2 separate regions of the Homo sapiens genome follow, and region 2 is linked to region 1. The links are contacts of gene promoters, found by promoter capture Hi-C in blood cells and fetal thymus (Javierre and others, 2016). All regions are on one chromosome and are shown on one strand. The core of a region is centred on a gene start or on the middle of the fragment in contact, and the rest is flanking DNA. Distances in the headings are between cores, read along the strand shown.

Region 1 (5,826 bases), core at 2,893-5,392:
TCTAGGTCCATTAAACCTCTTTCTTTGGTAAATTGCCCAGTCTTGGGTATGTCTTTATCAACAGCATGAAAACAGACTAATATAGGGAGTAAATATTTGCTGAACAATAATGTAAGTTACCTCAGCCCCCTTCAAATGCTTCTGTGGGCCCCACCAATGACTTCCATTTGCTTCTTATTGGCTGTTCGTTTTTGCAAGGGAGGTTGTGAAATATATAATTTTTTGGCCAAGTATACTGCTTCCCCTTGAAATATACGAGTTAAGTGAATGAAAAAAAAGAATGTAAACTGGATGCTAACATTCTCTGCTGCAAAAGAAGTTTTTTTCTCATTCGTCATTCTTGGATTCAATAAATGTTTTTGAAAGTTTACCATGAGAAAAGTCCTGACTTGGATGTTGTAACTTATATGAGCACATTACATGGTTGCAGGAATCCAGGGAGTTAGGCTGGGCTGGGATGATGGTTCTTATCTGTCAGATGAGGAACCTGAACCAGTGGAGAGGAAGTGGCTTTGCTGAGGACCCATGCTTTGTGAGTGGTAGATTCAGTTTTGAACCTCAGTCTTCTCTGTCTCATTCCTTTATTCAGAAGCATTTATCAAGTAGCTACTTGGTACCAGGAAGATGGAGACAGAAGGCCCAGAATCGTCTTTTCTTCTAGGAAGTGAGAGTCACAGGAGATAATATTTGCAACAGAGAAACTTCAGGGGACATGCTGTGCTGGACCTTCAGGATGGGGAGGACTGGTGCAGGGAGGTATGTCAGGTTGGAAATAGGAATGTGTCAAGAAAAGGCTTTGAGATGGAGGAAACTGCCCTGAAGGAGGTTTATGAGTGTGTAAAAGGCTTGAAGAAGTAATCGGAGGTCAAACCTTGAAGGAGTCTGAAAGCTATGCTGCTGAGGAATTTGCACTTAATCCTGAGAGTTATGTGGAACAGGTCAGTGGCAGGCCCATGTTTACGTTTTGGCAGTAATGTGCAGGATGGATTGGAAAGAGCAAAAGTAGAGCCTGAGATGCTAGTTGAGTTTCTGAGAGTACTGTAAGTGATGACAAAAGTTTGAGCCAAAGAACTGGCCGTGAGGAGGAGAAAGATTCCAGAATCATTTAGAAAGGCCATTTGGATATGGGAGCCAAGGAAGAGGAATTGCGTCGTTCAGCAGTTCTCAGCCCTGGCTATGCTTAAAAAATATAAAGACACTCAAGCCTTGGAAATTTTGATTCAGTAAGTCTGGAATGGAGCTAGACATGGAATCTTATTAGAGAGTGGGCCTGTTGGGCCGCTGCCTGGGGTACCAGTTTATAAGAAACCCTAAAACGTCCTTAGAGCAAGTTGGAAATCTGCTAACTGGTGAAAGATAGACTCACTCCTAATGAACCTGGAGCACCCTGTCATGAAAATAATAAAATATTCCTCTCTAGCACCAACCTGTCCCAGTGGAGTGAGTTGAGTATTTCCTACTTGCAAGGTCTGCAGTGTAACCAGAGGCTCTGCCAACAACCTGGGAGCAGCCAACCACCAGTCAACAAAAATTTGGAAAGTAACAAAACATGAAGTGTTGTTTCCTAGAAGGGAGGGATTTACTGGTTATCTAAATTTAAAACCCTTTAATATAGCTTCCAAGAAGTTGCGGCCAGGCGCGGTGGCTCACGCCTGTAATCCCAGCACTTTGGGAGGCCGAGGCAGGTGGATCATGAGGTCAGGAGATCGAGACCATCCTGGCTAACAAGGTGAAACCCCGTCTCTACTAAAAATACAAAAAATTAGCCGGGCGCGGTGGCGGGCGCCTGTAGTCCCAGCTACTCGGGAGGCTGAGGCAGGAGAATGGCGTGAACCCGGGAAGCGGAGCTTGCAGTGAGCCGAGATTGCGCCACTGCAGTCCGCAGTCCGGCCTGGGCGACAGAGCGAGACTCCGTCTCAAAAAAAAAAAAAAAAAAAAAAAAGAATTACAAGGTGGAACTGAAGAGGAATGGAGTGTGCAATCTTAAATAGAGTGGTCAGAGAAGGCTTCACTAAAGAGGTGACACTTGGGCAAAGACCTGAAGGAGATGAGGGAGCAAACCATGGGGATATCTGGGGCATTCTAGGGAGAGGGATAACAAGTGCAAAGGTCCTGAGGTGGGATCTTGCCTGTAATATGCAAGGGACAATAAGAAGGTGAGTGTGTCCTGGAGCACAGTGAGAGAGAGTGTGCAGAGATAATGTTAGAGAACCAATGAGGGCCAAAGTGTGAAAGGACTTGTAGGCCCCTGTAAGATGTGGCATGTTACACTGCAGGAGATTTGAAGCCTCTGGTAGGTTTTGAGCAGAGAAATGACAAAAATCTGATTTATGACTCTTTTCAAGTAATTCTTCTTAAAAGTAATTTTATTCATGTTATTAGGATGGACCAGGATATGCTATAACAACAAACAATTCTTTACAGCTTAGCCATGTTCTTGTGTGACATTTTATTTGGCTGGGCTAGATCCTGCAGCAGCTTTTCCCAAGTGTGTTCCATGAGTCATTGGAGCTGCTTCTTTTGAAAAACAGTTCTGCTTCCAGTAATCCTGGAAATACTGGGCACTCTCTTCCTGTCTAAGTTAGTGATTTGAGACCATCATTAAAAATACATAAAATTGGAATAGAATAGAAAATGTCAGAGTGCATCACATGAAGTAATGTTTTATAAAACAATCTTTTAGTTACATTTATACATATATGTTTAATATATATCTTGTGTGGGGTCACAGTCAGAAAATGAGACTCAAAAGATCACAGCGTCTCCCTAAACATCTAAATAAAACCCTGAATGGTTTGTACTGTCCTCCACCCTCTTCCCTCATTTCCCAACCAGGGCTCAAACTCTCTGTCCTTTCAGTAGTCCATATGCACAGACAAGCTGCAGTTTGCAGTGCTACATCCTGCCTCCTGTTCCTGCCATATCAAGTCTTCCTCTTTGTTTCATGTTCTGGCAAATAGACTTGGATTTGCTAAACTGTTTACTGGCGATCTGGTCTCAGGAAAGTTACTTCACCTCCCTAATCCTGACTTTCCTAATTTGCAAAAGTTTTCCTTTTAGGATCGTTTGTGGTTATTAAATGAAATAATGTACAGAAAGCATCTGGAATGTTAAGGACCGAATACTTTCCCTTCATCTGTTCCTCCTGCCCATACACACATACACAATTTAAGGGGACTCTCTGGATCTTTGCTTCCCTTTAGAAGCACTGCCATCAGTGATAACCTCAGATCATTCTGGGGCAGGAGACTGCTGGGAAGATGCCTGTCTTCATCTAGCTAATGATGCTTCCTGTTAGTTTCAGTACTGGAGGCTAATTTTTCAGCCTGGCCCCCAAATTCTCTCAGAGCACCCTACTGCTGACTCTGCCTCGCCTCCATCCATTGTCTACAGGCTCTTAATAATCCTGGGGTCCAAACATTGGGCCACTGGGGGACACAAGTCATAAAGACGTCTGGGGACTGGTCGATGGTCATCCAGCTGTTAATAGTGGGGCTAGCCCTGATTTTGGGACTACAGAACCCCTAAGCCCAGGACATTCCCCAACGGGGAACGGATAGACTCTCAGGTCTTGCTCTGACTGTGCCTTTGTTGGCAGTAGGTGACTCAGGGGACACAAAGGCACTGTCTGTGCATCCAAAGCAGAGAGGTATCAGCCACTTACTTCAGTGACTTTAACAGTGATTAGTTCTCAAGGACAAAAACTCTTCATTGTTAATTAGCTTAGTGGTCAACGGATTTTCCTTCCAAATCCTCTTGGGGACTGAACCCAAACAAGGCGAAGAAGTGACAGTAAAAAAAGACTTGTCCTTCTGACAAGCGACAGTAAAGAAAAAGACTTGTCCTGCTTGGCAGGAGAGGGTGGCAGTTTGGGCAACACTCAGCCATATTGCTGAGTTGCAGCGAACTCACCAAGCACCCTCACACCTTAGAGGCGTCCCTCACCGTCCAGCCTTGGTGCATCACCCGTCAGGCGGGCAGTCAGGGCGTAGACCTTTCCTTCCTAGCACCTGGGCCCCTACTCCAGAAGACCAGAAGACTGCGGCTGGCCGAGCCCCCGGCAGGGCTTTTATTGTGAAGGGAGCTTCCCCCTCCCGCGCTTTCAGGGGAATGGGGAAGCTGGGCCGGGACGCGCGGCAGGGACTTTGCAAACTCTGCAAAAGTCCCGAGTAGACCGCAGAGGCTCGCGGCCGCGGGTAGGCTCCCTCAGATCCCCGTAGATCTCAGTAGATCCGGCGTGTATTCCCCACCCGCGGAGTATCCCGGTGTGCAGCGATCTCCCGAGAGTTGGCGCAGGGCCACTTGGCTGCAGAGAACGTGTGCACCTTCAGTCCGGGAAACCCGCCCCAGCCGAGTAGCCGCGCATCCTGGGAAGCCTGGCGAGCCACGGCGCCGGGGGCGGCCAAGGGGAGGCGGGATGAGTCTGCGAGCCGGCTGAGCGCGCCGAGGAGCCGGCCGGGGCACCGCCGGGGACATGGTAGGACTCGCGGGAAGGAACGCGCGAGCGGAGGGTGGGGCGATCACCAGGACAGGTGGCTGCAGTCAACGCGCAGCGGCCCAGGGCGCGCGCAGCCTGCGCGGCCTCCCGAGGCCGGAGTTGTTCCCCGAAAGTTGCATGGGGCGGCGGCGGCTTTCATTTCTGCACCAGAGCTGGGGGCGATCGGCTTTCCTGCCGCTCTTAGTGGGGCGGACCGTAATAAGGGGGCTTTTATTACTAATCTGCACTCCTTGACCTAACCGTAACCCACTCGCAACTCTGCAATCTTCATGCAATCCACAAGGCAGGGAGAGGGGAGCGTTCCCTGGGGAACCCACGGCAGCCTCTGATGAGATGCTTTTGAAGTCATTTTAATACTCTCCAAAGTTCATGTGAATTTTATACTATCTTCTCTAATTTAGCTATGTATTGATATTAAAAATAATGTCCTAACGTTTATTAACATTTAATAACTAAATTAACATTGAGTTAAATTGGCTCTAGTAAGGTTCCAATCCGCCTTCCTCTACCTCCCCGACAGGAGGACTGTTGGGCAGATGTGGAAGCACTGGTGGGTCTGGGATGTCACGATGAAACCAGGATCTTGTGGACGTGGCCCTTCCATTGATCAACTTCACAGACACTAACAGGCAGAAAAGAAAAACCCATCGAGAATGTGGCCCAGGCGGCTTAGCTAAAGGACACATGCAACCCCAGGAAAGGGGCGTCCCTCAGGCCCGGCCGCTGGTTAGTTGCTCTGCTTCTCCCGCAGCAGAAAACCCCTGCAACCCCAACTGGGCTCCTGCAGTTCACTGGGCTCCCCTGGCTGCTTCCGTGCCTGCTCGCCTCTTCCCTTTCCTTCCAAGCTCACAGAAGGCAGATCGGAACCCACTGGAGATGCTTTGTGGGGAGTTTTGCTGGGCCTGGGGTTTAGAAGGCTGTCTAGAGACTGCGCTGTAGGATGGAGGGTCTCTGTGAGAACAGCTCCTTTGTGTGCAGGGGGGCCTGGCAGGTGGCTGGAACAGAGGTGGAGGGCTGGTCATAAGGAGCTGGGGGCTCAGGGAAGGGTACCTTTGAGGCTAGGGGTGTGTGTATGTTTCACCCCTCCTAACACCTATCCAGCTTCAGGTTTTTTCTCAAAGCTGCTAAGAGAAGGAAATAGTGGAATCTTAAGCTTCAAAAGGGGGAATGATTGGGGGTACAGGATGTGAAACGAAAAGTGTGGAGATATCCTATTACAAATTCCCTGTTTAGGAGCAAGAGTGTTACCAGAACTCAGGCCACAGCCATCCACTCCGAGGGGCATTAGCATGCTGGAGTCTCCTGGCTTTAAAGGCAAATGTAGCAGA
Region 2 (5,303 bases), core at 2,034-4,533, 1.2 Mb after region 1:
TCTCAAACCTGTCATTAAAGAGTTTTTAATGGAGTGCCATAGGAATAATTGATTAAGTCATTGGCCCTGGAGGGCTGGGGGTGGTGCTGAAAGTTCCAGCCCTCTGATCACACAGTTGTTCTTTCCGCAACCAGCTCCATCTTAAAGCTATCCGTGAACCCTTTAGCCATGTGTCATCTCATTAGCATAGTAAAGTTACTCCTATCACTCTGGGAATTCCAAGGGTTTTTAGGAGCTGTGTGCCAGGAACCAGGGAGAAAGATCAAATATATTACTTGTTTTTAAACTTTTAAGTTCAAGGTACATGTGCAGGTTTGTTACATAGGTAAACATGTGTCATGGGGGTTTGTTGTACAGATTATTTCATTACCCAGGTATTAAGCCTAGTACCCATTAGTTATTTCTTCTGATCTTCTCCCTCCTTCCACCCTCCACCTTCCCAAGGGCCCAGCTGTGTGTTGTTTTCCTCTATGTAATACCAAATATATATTTATCACAACCTTCATGATTTTTTTTAAATGACAGGCAAGATTTGAGTGAAAGTTTTAGGCTGCTTTTTGCAAGTATTTCTCTATGAATACCATATTACAGATGTGCATAGTATTTATTCCCAATAAATAGAAAGCCAAATTGGAGTAATTTTCACCATATTTCCTTTTTAGCACTGGTTGCTTAAGCAGAGAGACATGTTGATCTGCTATATAAAGATCTTGATCAGATAAGTGCAACTTACAGTTCTAGGCAGAGCATCTTGAAGCAAATTTGAGGAATTATCATTTTTCTTTTTAAACATATATTTCAAAATCAATTTCCTCATACTTTCTACTTTCCATTAACTGTTCCTTGTGGCTATGAATACTACAACTAAGAATAAAACAATATAAAATACATAATAAAGTCACTGCAATATCTATTCTACTAGCCCCTGTAGACTTGGGTTCAGATAGACAATCTCATAAGACACAACAGGCCTCAACTAGCACCAAGTGTGTTTAGCTTTAATAAAGGATAGAGAGCATGAAATATCCTGGCATGCACAGCAATGGCAGAGCATAGGTCCTGTGACTCCTGGGCACAGCTGCTGGTGTCCCAGCCATTCTGAACTCGGAACATGTGTGGTCATAAGAGACGAGACTGAGTGACTGCTGCTGACCCCAGCTCAGGGAAGCCATGGGCTCTGAGCTCTTTCGGCTTTATGCCAGCTGGCCTTACAGCCCCTCAGGCATATGACTAGTCTTGATTCTTTAGGGCAGCTGCATCTCAATATCAATTATTCATTATTCAATAACAAATTTTGACAACATGCGACACCTGTACATAATCCTCAGATGGATTTTATGTTATCAGTAGCATATCATCCCAACAATTCTTTGAGTTAATGCTGCAAGAAGATCCTCAGCTATCCCTGAGGCTCAAGGAAATACTACAGAAGCAGCTGCTAACCTCCTTCCAGCTCACTTCCTGATCCCCATTAAAACATGTTGATACATGTTTGAGGTATTTTCTTATTCTTAATATAGTAATTTCCACCATATTTGTTGTACAACAAAATAAATATGCTAAAATACAGACAACCACTAAGATCTACATCCTCCAATGAAGAGTTGGGATTATTTCTGCAAAGCATGTTAACAACACTCTGCCCCATTCACAAATGTTCTGATATATAATATGGTACCAATTGTTCCACTCTTCCCTTCTATATTCTCCCCCCTCCCCACCCATTGTTTGCACATTTTTAATAGATATCGATAGAAGCATTCAACTCCATGGTGTCTTTTGGCAAGTTTTGATGGGAATTACATCAATTGGAGGTTTTAAGACTACTTCCCGAAACATCTTTTCATCCTGTTCATCCTGGAGATCATCTGCTACATTGGCTTGATTTTCATTTAGCTCTATACATGAAGCTAGAAATCTTTTATTATACTCTATAATGATTACAGAGATTAAAGTAATGCTTACTACATCATACATCAGTTAATATAATGGTGTCATTTCCCCAACCTTCCAAGCAAAAACATCCTTTGTCTCAAATATCACTTATTTTTCTTAATTGAGGTGGTCATTAAAGGCCACTGCTCAGTAAACTTTGAGTTCCACTGGTCCCAGGCCATGATCATACCCTTGCAACCAAGAAACAAGTTCTCACAAACCCAAGCTTCCAGGTTTCACTATACAGCACCACCCATCTGCCATCCCAAAGTTCCAGGGGAGCCAGTGGGATGGGGTGACCATATCACATAGGTATTCACCCTCGTGGACACCCTTCTGATTCCTGAATGCTTGATTGCATGGTTTTTCATCCACATCCACATCTGGTATAGTCAAAAAGCAAAGTGAATTCTGAGACACTGTGTAAGCAGTAAGATGCAACTTTTTTATATCTTTACCTAGATGCCACCCTGAATTACAACATTACAATGTATCAGCTGCCAGGTACATGCAAGTTCAAAGCTAAGGGCTACAAAAGAACCAATATCACAAACATAACCAAAACAAACAAAAGCTACCCAAATAATGATCCAGCCGGCTATCATTCAGGTTGACCAAAGGGCTATTGATTGGTATATTTTCTCTAATTAACCTAGTAAAATTCTAAACTATTCCTTGGGTCAGTCATGATCCTGTAGTTCTACCTACTTGGGAGGCTGGGGTGGGAGGACTGCTTGAGCCCAGGAGTTTGAGTCTGCAGTGAACTAACTGCGCCACTGCACTCCAGCCCGAGTAACAGAGTGAAACCCTGTCAATCGATCAAGCAAGTAATTAGCATACCTTGTATTCTAGCTTCAGTCCAAATTTTCTCAAGGGAAAGCAAATCCAGGGGCTTCTCCCAGAATCTGCCATGGTTTGGCACCACAAACACCTAACTGTATTATTCTCTTGTTCCAGGATGCAATTTTTTTTTTTTTTTTTTTTTGGAGACAGAGTCTCACTCTGTCACCCAGGCTATATACAGTGCAGTGGCACGATCCCAGCTCACTGCAACCTCTGCCTCCTGAGTTCAAGCGATTCTCCTGCCTGCCTCAACCTCCCAACTAGCTGGAATTACAGGCACCTGTCACCATGCCGGGCTAATTTTTGTATTTTTAGTAGAGATGGGGTTTCACCATGCAGGCCAGGCTGGTCTCAAACTCCTGACCTCAAGTGATCCACCCACCCCAAAGTGCTAGGATTACAGACGTGAGCCACTGCACCCAGCTCAAGATGCAGTCTTGAGAAGATAGTGACATCCTTTCCTGGCATCACCGTCTATTTGTGTGCTCTATCGCCATCTGTCACGATTTCCCCTTTTGCCCATTCATTGTCTGTCTCAAATCAGATAATGAATTTAGATCCATGGATTCAGCTACACTGCCGACCCCAGAGCAGACAGCAGGGTTAGGCTGGCCATGTCTTTGTCTATTCACAGGAAAGAGAAGGCAGGGGGTCAGACAAGCCAAGGATTATGGAACTATACATGTAGGCAGCTGGGCAGGATTTAGAGGCAGTCTTAGTTTAGACACACGAGGTAAAGTCACCAGTTCGCACTTGTCTTTGTTAAAAAGCACGATAAAATTCTAAGAAACAAATAGCACCCTGAGCAGTAATGTTTCCTGTCTGCATAATCTTTGCCCAAATTATTTCCCCAAATTGAACTGATAGGAACAAGTGAAGTAACCATCTTCAGCTGGTCATATGTGCTACTGGAGTTCTCCAGTCTTCCCTGCCTGCTTCTTTTGAAAAGGAGGTCATCATAATATCAATGTGAAAAACAACTTTTGATAGTAACCAAATCCAAATTGCTTCTCACCAGGTTGTGAGCATACATTGGAGAATTCAGAAATGCATACTGCATTTCTTCCTGTAAGAAAATGAATTGTGCCTGGCTTCCTTTTGAAATTCATACAGAAAAGCAAGCATTCGTCAAATCTGTCACATTTTCAATCTGTTGCACTTCCTAAATAGTTTTCACTGTGTCTAGTTTGGTGAAAAGCCATGATTGCCAACATTTGTCCCCAGGAGCCACCCACTTTACTCATAGGCCAAATAGGACTGCTATGAGCGTTGAGAGATAATCACTCCTGCTTCTTCCATTGATTAGAGCTGAAATTTTTAGTGCAGTATGGTTTAATAGTCAGTTGAAAGTGGGTATAGTGGGGAAGGGGATGGGGGAAGCTATAGTACTTGAGAAGTGATTTGCCAGGTCTGTTCAAAAGCAATGTGTTCAGTAAGCAGCCAGGCATATTTGACCTCCTCTGAGTTAAGGTTTCCTCCCAAGAACACTGGCATGGTGAATGTCAATAATTGTAAAGGGTCTGAGATTTTACCCTACTTGCAAGTTAACAAATTAGCCTGCCACCATTTCATGGTCAAAGTACTCCTAGATCAAAGGATTTAATTACTCGTGGAACAACAAGAAACATAAGCTTCATGTTTGCACGAGTTCCCCTTGCATTAGGTGGATGCTGCACTGCAAGTATCAAAGTCCCAAGGGGGGAAAGAAGTTAGCATACTTAAGAACGGAAAGAATACAAGTATGACTACAGCCTAGTCATCAAGTGGAGAAGTAGAATGATGAGATTAGCAAGATAAGCGGGAGCTAGATCTGCAGGGCCTGTGGATCATGACACGAAGTCGTGAATTTTATTCTAGAAGATGGAGAGCCATGAAACTCTGCAAAGTGGGAAATGCCATCATCTGATTTAGGCCTAAGGGAGATCATTGTGGTAGCAATATGAAGAAAAGATATAAGAAGGTCAAGAGTGAAAACTTTAGTCCAAATGAGAGTTGAGGGTGGCTTAGAGTAGGAGATGATAGAAGATACAAAGATGTAGATAGATTCAGGACAATGTGGAACTTGAACCAACAAGTCCTGTGCAGGGATTGATGGGGAAAGATTCTGCTGTGGGAGTTAAGGAAGAATTGAGGGTGATGTCTAGATTTCTGGTATGAAAAAAAAACAAACATACAAGAAGCAGATAGGAGATGAGGTATAGGCAGCCAGAGGAGCATCATAATAACTCCTTTTGAATAAAATATTTTTGAATTGTCTATATTTTGGCATATTAGAATTTGGAGTATATTTAAAGCTACGGGACTAGGCAAGATGACCCAGTCAATGAGCAGAGAGAAAAGATCAGAAAAATATCATGGATATGTGGGCAAAAATTTGGCAATAAGAGTAGACATCATGGTGTTTATTGTAAGAGAACAGTAGCCTAAAATCTATTAATAGGAGGCCGATTAAACAATGCTACGCCACCAATTTAGATTGTGTTCCATGTTGTATTTACTCACATAGAAAGTGACTCATAATTTTA

The links. Contacts are between HindIII fragments. The CHiCAGO score rates a contact against its expected background, and 5 or more counts as called.
Region 2: a contact is called between a fragment that was not itself captured here and the fragment with the promoter of GASK1A in region 1, in 1 of 17 cell types (endothelial precursors). The highest score is 5.9, in endothelial precursors.

Annotation. Positions count from the first base shown.
Region 1 is chr3:42,975,169-42,980,994 of GRCh38, forward strand. GASK1A (golgi associated kinase 1A) reads left to right here and starts at 4,143. Exons shown (of 5, transcript NM_001129908.3): 1 at 4,143-4,477. The coding sequence starts at 4,475. The HindIII fragment of the contact is 11,487 bases long and covers 1-5,649 here.
Region 2 is chr3:44,178,294-44,183,596 of GRCh38, forward strand. No RefSeq gene overlaps it. Among named protein-coding and RNA genes, the nearest start is that of TOPAZ1, 61 kb to the right of the region's middle. The HindIII fragment of the contact is 2,248 bases long and covers 2,160-4,407 here.